Regions from separate parts of the Homo sapiens genome. Here region 1 is linked to region 2. Evidence: promoter capture Hi-C in 16 types of primary human blood cells and fetal thymus (Javierre and others, 2016). All regions are on one chromosome and are shown on one strand. The core of a region is centred on a gene start or on the middle of the fragment in contact, and the rest is flanking DNA. Distances in the headings are between cores, read along the strand shown. Region 1 overlaps ABHD12 (abhydrolase domain containing 12, lysophospholipase). Region 2 holds the start of ACSS1 (acyl-CoA synthetase short chain family member 1).

What was found. Contacts are between HindIII fragments. The CHiCAGO score rates a contact against its expected background, and 5 or more counts as called.
Region 1: a fragment that was not itself captured here is called in contact with the fragment with the promoter of ACSS1 in region 2 in 1 of 17 cell types (total B cells); the score reaches 5.3 in total B cells.

Annotation. Positions count from the first base shown.
Region 1 is chr20:25,373,358-25,380,072 of GRCh38, forward strand. The region is part of intron 1 of ABHD12 (abhydrolase domain containing 12, lysophospholipase); the gene reads right to left. Among named protein-coding and RNA genes, the nearest start is that of ABHD12, 14 kb to the right of the region's middle. The HindIII fragment of the contact is 4,842 bases long and covers 447-5,288 here.
Region 2 is chr20:25,053,419-25,060,206 of GRCh38, forward strand. ACSS1 (acyl-CoA synthetase short chain family member 1) reads right to left here and starts at 4,721. Exons shown (of 14, transcript NM_032501.4): 1 at 4,351-4,721. The coding sequence starts at 4,684. RefSeq lists enhancers at 3,817-3,946, 4,597-5,202 and silencers at 4,047-4,316, 4,447-4,976. The HindIII fragment of the contact is 7,356 bases long and covers 2,326-6,788 here.

The DNA.
Region 1 (6,715 bases), core at 1,618-4,117, 320 kb after region 2:
CCAACATGGTAAAACTCTGTATCTACTAAAAATACAAAAATCAGCCGGGTGTGGTGGCGGGCACCTGTAATCCTGGCTACTTGGGGGGCTGAGGCAGGAGAATTGCTTGAATCCGGAAGATGAAGGTTGCAGTGAGCAGAGATTGTGCCACTGTGCTCCAGCCTGGGATACAGACTGAGACACCGTCTCAAAAAAAAAAATTAAAAAAATAAAGACGTTGCTTCACTGAATTCTTACTTACTTTTCTTTTAAGAAAACTTCTTTGCCCATATCTTTGTTCCTGTGTGCACAGTATGTCTTTTTTCCTCTGGTTGGTTTGAAGGTTTTTTTTTTCTTTATCACTGATTTTGAGCAATTTGATTACGAAGTGCCTTGGTATACTGCTTCATGTTTCTTATGCAGGAGATTAATTAAGCTTCTTAGCAGTGGGTTTACAGTTTTCACCAAGCTTGTAAAGTTTCTGGCCACTATTTCTTCAAATATTTTTTCTCTCCTTTCTCCTCTTCTTTGAGGACTTTAATTATCAGTATAATAGGCTACCTGAAGTTGTCCCATAGCATAGTGATGCATTTATTTATTTATTTATTGACAGGGTCTCACTCTGTTGCCCAGACCAGAGTGTAGTGGCTTGATCATGGCTCATGCAGTCTTGACCTCCCAGGCTCAAGCAATCCTCCCACCTTAGCCTCCCAATTAGTTGTAATCAAAGGCATGCACACCACGCCTGGCTAATTGTTCAATTTTTTTCTTTTTTGATGAGGTCTCCCTTTGTTGCCCAGGCTGGTCTCAGATTCCTGGGCTCAAGTGATCCTCCTTCTTTATCCTCCCAAAGTGCTAGGATTACAGGTGTGCTGGGATTACACACATGGTCGGAGTACAGGTGTGTGCCACCACACCTGGCCTAGTAATGATGCTTTTGAAAATCTGTTTGGTTCTCTTTTCCCCAGGTTTCATGTTGAATAGTTGAGCTCTTTCTTTAGCAGTGTTTAATCTGCCCTTCAATGTAATTCCCTTCAGTGTAAACTTTACCTCACACATTATGGTTTTCATCTTCAGAAATTCAATTTGGGTAATTTTCAGATTTTCCATGACTCTCCACTTAACTTCTAGAACATATGGAATACAATTACAGTAAGTTTGTTTGTTTGTTTTTGAGATGGAATTTCGCTCTTGTTGCCCAGGCTGGAGTGCAGTGGCACGATCTCAGCTCACTGCAACCTCCGCCTCCCAGGTTCAAGTGATTCTCCTGCCTCAGCCTCCCGAGTAGCTGGGATTACAGGCATGTGCCACCACACCCGGCTAATTTTGTAATTTTAGTAGAGACAGGACACAGGGTTTCTCCATGTTGGTCAGGCTGGTCTCAAACTCCTTACCTCAGGTGATCCTCCCGCCTCGGCCTCCCAAAGTGCTGGGATTACAGGTGTGAGCCACCACGCCCAGCCTACAGTGTTTTAATGTGCTTCTCTTCAACACTAACGTGCGTGTCAGTACTCAGTCGGTTTTCATTGATTATTCTCTTCATTATATACACATCATAGTTTCCTCCCACTCTGCATGCCTGTGCTATGGGCTGAATAATGTCCCCTCAAAATTTGTATGTTGAAGTCTTAACCCCTAGCACTTCAGAATATGACTGTATTTAGAGAGAGGGTCTTAAGGAGGTAATTATGCTAAAATGAGGTCATCAGGGTGGACCCTAATCCACTATGACTCAGCTTTGTAAGAAGAAATGCAGAAAGAGCCACACACAGAGGTTAGACCATATGAAGACACATGGAGAAGGTGGTCATCTACAGGCAAAGCAGAGGGGCCTCATGAGAAACCAGCCCTGCTGACACCTCCATCTTGGACTTCTGGCCTCTGGAATCGAGAGAAAATAAACTTCTGCCATTTAAGTCACCTGGTCTGTGTTACTTTGTTATGGTAGCCCTCACAAACCCATACACCTGGAATTTCCCACTACTGAAGCATGCTGTTCCTGAATGTTCTACCAGTAAATTATAATCTTGCTCTAAGTAGCAGGGACTGTATCTTCTGATCTTTTCAGACAGTTCTTTCCCCAGCCACAGAGAGTTTCCTCACACACGTGTGCTGATCAAGGGGACCCTCTGCAGACCCCAGGGTCTCTCTCTGTGTTGCTCTCTCCTCTCTGGTACTCTGTCCTATAAACTCTAGCCACATTGGTCTCTCCAGATTCTCAGCTCCACACCCACAACCCTGGGAGTCCACGTGGCTCCCCTCCCTGTGCCATGGCGTGGAAGCTCTCTCAAGGAGATCAGCTAGGGTACTGTAGGGCTCACTTCCTTTGTCTGTCACTTCTCCGAGTTTACTGTCCTTTGTTGCTTGGTGCCCAGTGTTTTAAAAATTGTTTCGTGTATGTTGTCGTTTTTGTTGTGGCTGCTATTTGGGTTATTTCCGGGTAAATTCAGCCACCTTGGTCAGTAGTGGAAGTTCTATGTTTCTTTTAAAATATGTCTATAATTAGCTGGGTGCAGTGGCTCACACCTGTAATCCCAGCACTTTGGGAGGCCAAGGCAGGTGGATCACGAGGTCAGGAGATCGAGACCATCCTGGCTAACACGGTGAAACCCCGTCTCTACTAAAAATACAAAAATATTAGCTGGGCGTGGTGGTGGGCGCCTGTAGTCCCAGCCACTTGGGAGGCTGAGGCAGGAGAATGGCATGAGCTGGGAGGCGGAGATTGTAGTGAGCCCAGATCGCACCACTGCACTCCAGCCTGGGCGACAGAGTGAGACTCTGTCTCAAAAAATAATAATAATAATAATAATGTCTACAATTAGTTTTCATCAACTCCTTCATTAATGTAACCATCAAAATTGTTGAGGAAAAGTGTTTTATCATTTAATTCCATGGTATTCTCTTAGAAGGAACAAGAGAGTAACGCCAAATCTCATTCCCCAAGACTAACAGATTAAATTCTTCTTAGCTTTTAGGCGGAAATCTTAACAACAATCTCCATAATCATATTCAAAAGCAGTCAGTGTTGAGAGCAATTTCACTCTACTGAATTGAAAACTTTAAGGCCTTAATAAAACACACAAGAGCAGTCCATAAATGTCTCTTTGTTCCCAAAGAAGAAAACAAAAAATCATGAGGATTCAGTCGGCAGAACTGAACAACTGGGTATCCTACTGTGAGAAGGCCTTATTTTCCTGGCAGAAACAAAAATATTTCACCACTGTGGTACGGCATGTTTTCAGGTGCTTTACACACAGCCACATAACCTTACCTTGCTTTATTTTTCTTTATAGCACTTTATCACCCTTTGAAATTTTACTGTATACTTATGTGCTATCTTTGTTGCCGTGTTTCTCCTTCATGAGAACAGAAGTCCCACAAGGACTGGGATTTGTCCCACTCTTGTGCAGCATTTTATCCACTCTAGCCTTCAGTGAAGGCTAGGTCAACGAAAAAGACATACTTGCTAAATGGATGGAAGAACACAGGAGCAATACTCTCAACACAGGCCACACTGTTCACAGCAATTATCCAGAGGGAGTTTCACTTTCTCTGTTTTAAATTTTTATTAAGAACTCTTTATTACTTTGGAATCAGAAAAAAAAATCAAACTGTTTGAGAGAGGAACAGAGTGAGAGAGAGAGGGCCCCTCAGAGGCCGCCCTTCACCACAGCTATGACATCTCCCAGGCGACCTCATACCTGGAGATGCTTCCCTGGGCCCTGGCAGAATCTCCTTCAGCTTTTTCCTGAGGCTCTGGGGCTGCACTGGCAGCCTCCCAGCTGGCCTGTACTGGCCTAACAGTCCCTTCCTCCTGGAACCCTAAGCCAGATATTGAATGTCCTAGAATGGCAGTCTTTTTTGCTTGCCTTCTTGTAGGTTATGCCATGATGTGCCTTGTCAAGGTGTCCTGTGTCCCCAAACTGAGAATTTTTCTCATGTCTTTAGATGGCTCTATTGGCCAGCAATGCATTTTGCATTACATCCTGTCAAGCAAGAGGCTAAGAGACCTATTCTTAGTCAGTTTTTTGTTTCTATAATTAAATAACTGAGGTCAGTAATTTATAAAGAAGGAAATTTATTTCTTAGCATTCTGGAGGCTGGGAAGTCCAAGGTCAAGGGGCCATATCTGGTGAGGACCTTCTTGCTGGTGGGGACTCCGAAGAGTCCCAAGGTGGCTCAGGGCATCACATGGTAATGGGGATCAGAGGAGATGGCCACACTGCCTTTTACAACAGTGATAACTCTCATGATAACTAACCCAAACCCTCAATAAACCATTAATCTATGAATGGATTCATCCACTCATGAGAGCAAAGCCCTCATGACCCAATCACCTCCCAAAGGTCCCACCTCTAGTTTTTTTGTTTGTTTGTTTTGAGATGGAATCTTGCTCTGTCACCCAGGCTGGAGTACAGTGGCGTGATCTCGGCTCACTGCAACTTCTGCCTTCCAGGTTCAAGCGATTCTCCTGCCTCAGCCTCCCAAGTAGCTGGGATTACAGGCGTGTGCCACCACACCCAGCTAATTTTTGTATTTTTAGGATAGACGGGGTTTCACCATGTTGGCCAGGATGGTCTTGATCTCTTGATCTCGTGTTCCGCCCACCTCAGCCTCCCAAAGTGCTGGGATGACAGGCGTGGGCCACCGCGTCCGGCCAGGTCCCACTTCTTATATGTAGTTAGTACTACATTGAGGACCAAGATTCCAATACTTTCCAACACATGAAATTTTCGGGGACACATTTAAACCATTAAACCATCAAGCCATAGCAGATACCCTGAAGATAAATCAGTACATAAAAATGTCAGAGCAACACAGGAGTCTTTAAGAAAGGATAAATGTGAATGAAGGTAGACTAACCTTCTCCAGCCATCCCTGTATTTTCTCTTTGCCAAAGGCATCATCAAAGCCTGAGTATGCAAGAGCTGATGGTTGCCAAGCATAAAACATGACAGACAACTAGCTCCCTGAGGACAGGTACTATCTCCTTGTATCCCCAGGGCCTGGCACAACATCTGGCAAACAGCAGGAATACAGTAGCTACTGAATAAAATGACCTATGGGCACTTGGCATTGACAGGGCCACTTTCAGGTAGGAGCAATGTGGTTATCCAGGACCAGGAGTGGCAAAGGTCAAGGATGAAGGGGTAGGGCATATATGATGTACACATTATGAGGAGAAAAAAATAGTTGAAAGTTAAAAGCCATATCTATTCTAGTGATCTGAACTACCACATCAAAATGACCGGCATTGACCCTGAACATTCTTACCTTCCCATTACGAACAGTTCAGTCAATATACCCCAAGCTTTGTTTGAAGACTCCACCAGCCTGATAAGAACTGAAGATAATTTGAACTTTTTTTTTTTTTTTTTTTTACCATGAAGCTCAGGACAACTTCAGGCTTCAAGAACAAACCCTAAGTTTCAGCACCCCTGAGGTATGCGTGTATTCCCTCACTGACAGCCGTGTCCACGTTCACCTTTACAAACCCAAAAGTCCTGGCTTTCTCAGCCTTTCCCACACCAACACCCATCTGCCCTCTGCTCTCATTATGTCAGGACATTTTCTTATCCGCTAAACTTATCACAAGTGAATGAGGCAACTCAGCCCACAACTACCATATGAAGATTAATTCTATTTAACAATGAAGACACTTAGCAATCTGTGTACCAGCAAGCCCTGGGGGCCGAGAGTTCTGCCTGGTCCCACCTGATCACTCTGTCATGACCTCAGTTCATGTGAACCTTTCGCCCACCTTCGTCTCAAACCCAGCCCTGAGACCCTCCATGCTGGGATGTGTGCAGGGACCCCGTGCAGGCTTCCCAGAGCAGGGGAGCACTCAACTATGCAGAACATGTCAACTCCACAGATACACAGCAGGTCGTGACTGAAATGACTTCCCAAGGGAACTGTCCTTGTCATCCTTTTTAAAAACATTAAATGTCAGAAAGACGATATGAGAGCTCAGACTGCGCCCACGTGGGGAACTGAGAGAGAGAGGCCCAGTACCTCCTTTTCCCTCTGCCCTCCTAGCAGATGGCCTTGCTGCTTATTTCCTAAGGACAGCACAAGCACTCAGAAGAGAACTGGCAGATTCCTTCACCCACAAATAGATCAACTTACCCATGTCTTTCCCCACAGCCTTGGCCTTCCTTCCTATCTGAGGGGAACTCCTCTGCTCAGCCTCAGAACACTGGGTCCCATCCCTTCTCACAGGCCCAGAGACATCACTGCACCTACTCTGTCCCATGCCGTCCATCTTCTCCTCTCCCCTGGATTATTCCCATGCACACTCCAGACTGCTCTAATATTGCACAATTATGATATCATAATTATCAATATAATAGGCTGCTTGAAGTTATCCTATAGCATAGTGATGCTTTTATTTATTTATATATTTTTTTGAGACAGGGTGTCACTCTGTTGCCCAGACCAGAGTGCAGTGGCTTGATCATGGCTCACACAGTCTTGACCTCCCGGGCTCAAGCAATCATGCACGCCATGCCTGGCTAATTCTTTTTTTTTTTGGTCTAGATGAGGTCTCCCTTCATTGCCCAGGCTGGTCTCAGATTCCTGGGCTCAAGTGATCCTCCTTCTTTATCCTCCCAAAGTGCTAGGATTACAGGTATGCTGGGATTACAGGCATGGCAGGAGTACAGGTGTGTGCCACCGCACCTGGCCTTGTAACGATGCTTTTGAAAATTTGTTTGGTTCTCTTTTCCCCAGGTTT
Region 2 (6,788 bases), core at 3,471-5,970:
GTCAGTCACAAAAATTGTTTTGGACAATTTTCCCAAAGCATCTGTTATTTAAAGTAAGTCGTGCCCCTGACAGCTGGGGAGGACTTGGATTCCTCGGGAGGATCCTCCTCCTAAGATTAGGGGTTCCTTTTTCATGTAGAGTTCCCTGAAAAACCTTAGAAAAGTTACTTTAATCACTGGAATCACTAGGAGGAAAATGAAGCACAGGCGCACAGCGTCTTGCCGCTGTCAGTGTCCTGCCTTCTGAACGATTAGAGGCATGCCACAGAGAGGAAACTACAGCAAACACAGAGGAACTACAGCAAAAGGGCCTCTGTTCCTGCAATTAATCTCCAAAAAGCATCCAAGAAATTTCCCAGTGCTCAATGCTTGGTTACAAAGAGGATTTTTACACTCTTGCTTAAGAGTACACACACTGAAAAACATCACTTAAAATTGGGGGTTTTAAAAATAGAGCTTAGCTGTGTGTTTTGAAAGCAACACATGTCATTACCCTCTGGTTCTGCATTTACAACTTCCTGACATCTTGAGTTGATATGCCACAGGGCAAAAAGAGCTGCAGAGCCCTACAAAGGACAGAGCCAAATTTCACAGGTGGGAAAGAATCCCTTTTAGAACCTGGCTCTCCAAAGAACCTTCTGCAAGGCAGTTTTACACAATAGAAGCAAGTCACAGAAGGGCACAGACACTCTGTCTACCCTGCCCAGTGAGTCTCAGACACCATAACCTCAACTGGCTATTGGAGTTGTGGGATGGGCAGGATACTGTGGAGCTTTGAAAGCAACCTCAGCCACCTGCATGCTCTCCGAAGCCTATTCCCCACCTATCCCAGGCTGATCAGATGCAAGCCCATGTGGTCCAGTTCAGATGAAGCTCAGCTCTCTCAGCAGCACTGCCGAAGGCCAAGCACAAGGTCACAGCCTCCCCACATGCTTCATTAATAAATAACAAATAGTCAGTGACTGGGGATGTATAATGTGTTAAGAAAGTGCTGAGTGCCTTACAAGCATTTCCTCATTTCATTCTAACAGCCCTGGGATGGGTGTGCTGATAGATACTCCCATGGATAACAAAACAGGTGCAAACACTCAGGTCCCCTTCCCCAGGTCGGAAGATGCCTGATAACATCTGTGCTGGTCTCTTGGACCTCTGGTTGCAGGAAATTGCCTGGGCCCAGCCACCATGCTGTGACAAGCCCCAGGAGGTGCTTTGGGCCACAGTTCTGGCTGAAGCCAGCCTGCAAGTTGTCCCAAACAAGGCTCCAGACTTGGGAGTGAGAAACAGGCAGATGACTCCAACCTCAGACACTGAGGAGCAGGAGCAAGTGTTAAATAAAATGTATAGGAGGCCACTGGTCTGGACTGAGCTGCATGAGGCCCAATAGATCACACAAAAATGGAGTCACTCTTGCTAAAGTGCGGTGTCACCAAATGGAAACTAAGTTGTTTATCCGACCTTCTAAGAAACAAGGAGAGTGAAAGATAGCTAAATCTCCAAACAAGCTGGCATGATAAGGGAGCTCCTTCCACTTTCACCTTTACAACAAAAGTAGCTTTGAAATAACCAGTCCACTTTTTGTTCTCCATGTCTGCATCCTTCAGCCCCTTCTGTCTATAAAACCATCCTCCTCTGTTCAGCTCATCAAACATTCCTTCTGTTTTATGGAATGGGGTGTTTCCCAATTCTATAATCACGAATAAAGTGAAGTAAGGTCTTTAAACTAAATTTGTCCTAATTTTGCCCTTTGACATGAGTCATCCCCATCGGGCCCTGTCCAAAGTCCTGACTCACAGACTCTGCGAGGAATATAAAATTGTTGTTATCTTGTGTCACTAAACTTAGGGGTGGTTTGATGTACATCAATAGTAACTAGGACAGAATTCAGTTACATACGGCCCTTGTTTTACAGATGAGGAAACATGCAAAGTACAGTACAGGGAAAGCAAGAAATCAACCCGAGTCATGATTCTAAAGACACCTGGAGCCACGAAACTGTGTTGCGCCATCCACAGCCCATCATTTGCTTGCTGTTTGTTTAATAGGGCCAAGGCCAGGACACTAATCCCAATTCTGTTTTAGAAGTGCCTTCATCTGCCCTGGTTTGAGGCGTACAGGCCAGTGGTTCTCAAGCCCGAGTGTCCTCTGGAGCATCTGAAGGGCTCGTTATAAACACAGGTGTCAGGTCCCATCCCAGGGTTTCTGATTCCAGATGTCCAGGATGGGCTCCAGAATTTGTATTTCTCAAAAGTTCTCAGGTAATGCTGATGCTGCAGGTCTGAAGACCATGCGTTGAGAACCACTGGTATTCTTGAGGGGGTGAGGTGAAGCTTTCTTCAAGAGTGATATTCCTTTGGAACAAGCCATCTGACTTTATCACACACAGCTGACAGATCAGACCAAAGTGTTCTCATCCATCCCACGACTTTCTAGATGCTCCCAGAAGAGTCATGGCCTGGCCTGGCCCTTTTTCATACTGTCTTCTCTATGGTTTGCAGACACCGGCAAAGGAAAGAGATATTGCTGACCCATGAACAGGAGGGCACGCACATCCCAGGGGAGAAAGCTGCTGAAAAGCTGTTTTTCAAGTTAGTTTTCTGAAGCTCAATTTCTGGCTAACGTAGCCATAAAGGCCATATTATCAGAAGAAATAAGTGAAGGAAAAGGAGACAGAAGAATGCTTGCTGACCACACCCTGATCCTGACCGAGCGAGGTTCAGAAGGTCCTTGCTGTTGGCCCCAGGAGGTCCGCCCCACTGTCTTATCTGAGTGGGGCTGCAAGTGTGCACAGGCCAACTGTGAATGTTCCCCATGACCTTGGCCTCACAAGTCCAGAGCAGGTCACTTTCCACCTCTGTCCTTGGGCAAGCTGCTCTAGTCTCCTTCAAGGGCACATTGCCCCAACTCTGCAAACCAAAGGGTTTGGTTTTTTTCCCACTAGTTCAAGGGCACTTGCTGCTGACTCAATGTTAAAGAAAACACTTATCTAGTAAGTGACTCATTTTAATTAAACCAGCAAAGTAATATACAATTTCGGGGAGTGGGGGAGGTCCAAAGTTCCTTCCAATTTCTTTGAAAAATAACTGCAAGACACTATCTATAATTGTATGACTATTTCTGAAGTTATCTAAAATCGCTACTGCTTATGGGTCACCAGTAAGCGCTGGGTCTGCTGCACACCTTGCAGCACTCAGCCTAACCTCTGAGCATGACTGCCCCCATCCTCACAATGAGGAGACTGAGGGCTGGGGGGGCAGAACAACAAGGACAACTGAGGGAGGAGTTGGAGAAAATGGGGCCCTGGTGACCCTGCCATAAAGACCCGCAGGTCCTTTCTTAAACACTCCCAAATCCAGCAAGCTGGTTATGACCACCCTTCTGGTCTGCATCCCTCTGATCAACACCGTGTCTGCCAGCCCCTCCCCGCAGGCCCCACACCCAGGCCCACCCTGCATCCGGAGCCCACCTCGCACTTGGCACCCACCCTGCGTGGCCAGCCCTGCCTGCAGTTCAGGGCCTCCCCCTCGGTGCCCAGTCAGCGCCTTAGGTGGGGGCGAGGGTGCTGTGTACGACCCCCAGCCCCAAATCTTAGCAGAGCAGCAGGGCCTCTGCTCAGCAAGTTCCAAACAACTGACCACCAGTCAACTGTTTGGGGCCGACGTCAGACCCCGCGGGTCCAAAGCAGGCCCCAGGTCGCTGGGGTGCAGTTCTCTGAGGCCGAGAACGAGAACGGGGAGGCCGCCGTTACTTCCTTCCCGTCCACAGGCCCCAGGCCCCAGGCCCGCAGCGAAGAAATAACTGGTTCCAGCTGCCACGCCGAGTTTCCTCCTCCCCAGGTCGCCCGCCACAGCTCTGTTTGTTTACGTGGGCAGGGCTTGTCCCCAGGCTGATCCCCGGGCACCGCAGCCCGCAGTGACAACCGCCACCGCTTTGTTTTTCCCTCCACCCCGGTATGGGAACGGGAAAGTCCCGACTCCGGGGCGCTCGGGTGTAGCCCGCGGCTCCCCGCCGGCTCTTGCTCAGCGGCGCTATGCACCCGGTAACGCAACTCTGGAGTCCGCCGAGCGAGGAGCCGCGCCGAGCAAGGCCAGCAGCGGGGCGTCCCAAGCGGCCGCCGGGTCCCCGCGGGCGCCGGCCCGAGCTGGGCACGTGGATCTGGGGCCCGATGGGATGAGGGACGGGGTGACGTGGAGCCACTGCTTAGAGCGGGCGGGGCGGACGGAATACCGGAGGAGGGGCCCCTGCAGGGCTGCGATCCGCGCTGCCCGGGGACGGCTGCCGCTGGCGAGAGGCTCCGAGTCCCCTCGGGACCCAAGAGTTGGGGGCGTCCTGGGTCTCCCGAAGCCCACTCACCAGAGACATTTAACTGGCCTCCCAGGAACCAGCCGATCTTGCCAGTGCTGAAGTCGCAGTCCCAGACGGTGTGGTAGGGGGTGTCCCACACGAGAGTGTCCCGCGCCAGAGGCCCCCAGAAGGCGGCCGGCTCCCGGGCTGCCTGTGCACTCAGCGCGGGATACGAGCCTGGCTGTGCTGCTGCTGCTGCAACTGCGGGAGCGCTGCCCGAGGGTCCCGAGGCCGCCCTGCGCGGCGCGCTCACCCCGCACGGCGGCCGCGCGGGCTGCCCCGAGAGCCCTCGCAGGCTGCCCAGCAGCCTCCCGACGCCGCGGCCCAGGGTGCGCGCCGCCATCTAGGCAGGCTACCTGAGCTCTCTGTGCTCCCAGAGTGGGTGCCTCACGCCCGGGGCGCCCCGTGGAGTCTCCGCGGGCCCCGCCCCTGCTCCGCCCTTCCGCCACCATCCATTCCTCCAGGGCCCCCTCCCGGAGCCCGCCCGGGTCCCACCCCTTCTTCTGCTGCCCGGGAGAGGGGGGGCCGCTTAGGAAGAGGGGAGCAGCGTGGGGAAGGGGTGCAGGGGAGCGCGGGGCGGAGCAGGGTCCCAGGCCCTGGCCCAGGCGCTGCGCTCCGGTGAGTCTGCGGTCCCACCCGGATGTTCCTCGAGTCGGCCTGTTTTGGTTTCAGTTTGCACGCTCTCCTGCAAGCCCCGACAGCTTCTTCGAGCTGCCAGAGGCACGTGCGGCCCAGGACCCCAGGACGCAGGCTCAGGGCCTGGGGCGAGGGGACCCTCTGGGATGGGGAGGAGCCGGGAGGGAGCCGGCACCAACGTTAAGGGGGCTGGTGCACCCAAGCGCACTGGTGGGTCCCAAGACAATAGGTCGGTCAGTTCCGCATCTCAGAGGCTGAAGCCAAGGTTTTCATGCCTTTGTGCGCCCCTGAGAGTGAACCCCACCCCTGGAGTCTCAGCAGCACGCGAAAGGGGCTGGCGCCTTTCTAGGCTCCCGCCTAGAAGCCAGGAGGCTGCGCAAGCCTGAGTCCGTGTTCTGGGTCCCATGCTCCAGCCCCCCAGCTGCCGGCCTCCGTCCTGGCGGGGGTCACGTCCTGCTGGGGGTCGGTGGTGGGTGATATGGGGCGATGAGGACTTTCTCCAGTTGCTGCAGCATCTGTAGCCTGAGTTCAAACTCTGTGACCTTGAGCAAGTTCCTTAACTTCTCGGTGCCTCGTTTTCCTTTTGGGGAAGACGGAAGTAATGTCTCCCTGGGGGGCGGGGACGGCGGGGGTGGGCAGCTGCAGTAAGGAATACATTGGACAATGTCTGTCAAGCGTCTACCCTTGCGTGGCCCCATAGTAAGCTCAGTAGTGGGGATGATGTTTTTGCAGCTGTGGAGCCAGGAAGGACAGAAGGAAACGTATAAAACTGGTCTCCACCGAGTTCTTAAATATTCTGACACCCAAGAAGTAAATTCATAACAAACGGGTAAACACAGGGAAGAGAGATTTTGGAAAACTGGTTTATTGAGTTCTCTGTGATGGGAAAGTTTCTTTCCCTTGAGCTGTAGGGCTTGCAGAGGGGAGGAGCCTGCCATTGGAGGAGCCTCTGCGTGGGCTAGCCACCAGCCCCTGCTGGGGAATGCTGCTGTCTGCCAGAGAAGACAGGAGTGTACCTAGAGCTGGAGAATCAGTGACATCTACTAGCATAACACATGCCCTGCACAGTGCTAGCGCTTGACCTGCATTTTCTCCTTTATTTATTTATGATACTTTTTTAGAGATAGGGCCTGTAGCCCAGGCTGGAGTGCAATGGTTCCCATCACAGCTCACTACAGCCTGGAACTCCTGAGCTCAAGCGATCCTCCTGACTCGGCCTCCTGAGTATCTGGAACTACAAGCGTGTGCCACGGCACCCGACTAGTCTACTTAATTTGAAACTTATCTAGTGCTGTCCATTCCCACCAACTGTCAAACTCCAGGTGGAAAAAATGAGGAAACTGAGCCCAAATAAATAAAAGGACTTACTAAAGAGCATGCAGCTGGCTAAGGGAAGAGCAAGACTAACACCCAGTGCCCCCAGTGGGGAGCTCGTTGGCCTAAGTTCATTTGAATAGAATATTAAAGACACCCAGTACAGGGCACTGAGAGGCAGAGGTCAGTGAGTAGTAAAATTGTAAACTGAGAAAGCTCCTAACTGTGGCAGGGGGTCCCAAAGACGGCCACCAACTCTTCCTTCCCACGCCTGCACCGCCTGCACATGATGGTGTGCTGCTCTGTCCAGAGGAGGACCCTGGCTGGCTGGATTGCTTTGGCCAGTACAGCCTGGTGGGAGGGATGCTGTGACAGTTCCATGTGGAGGTCCTGAGAGACCCCGTAGCCCCAGCTTATCCTCCCATGGAACCCAGCTGCGAGCTGTGAGGAAGCGGGGCTGGCCTTCCAGAGGAAGGGACCCAGGGCGAGGATGAAGC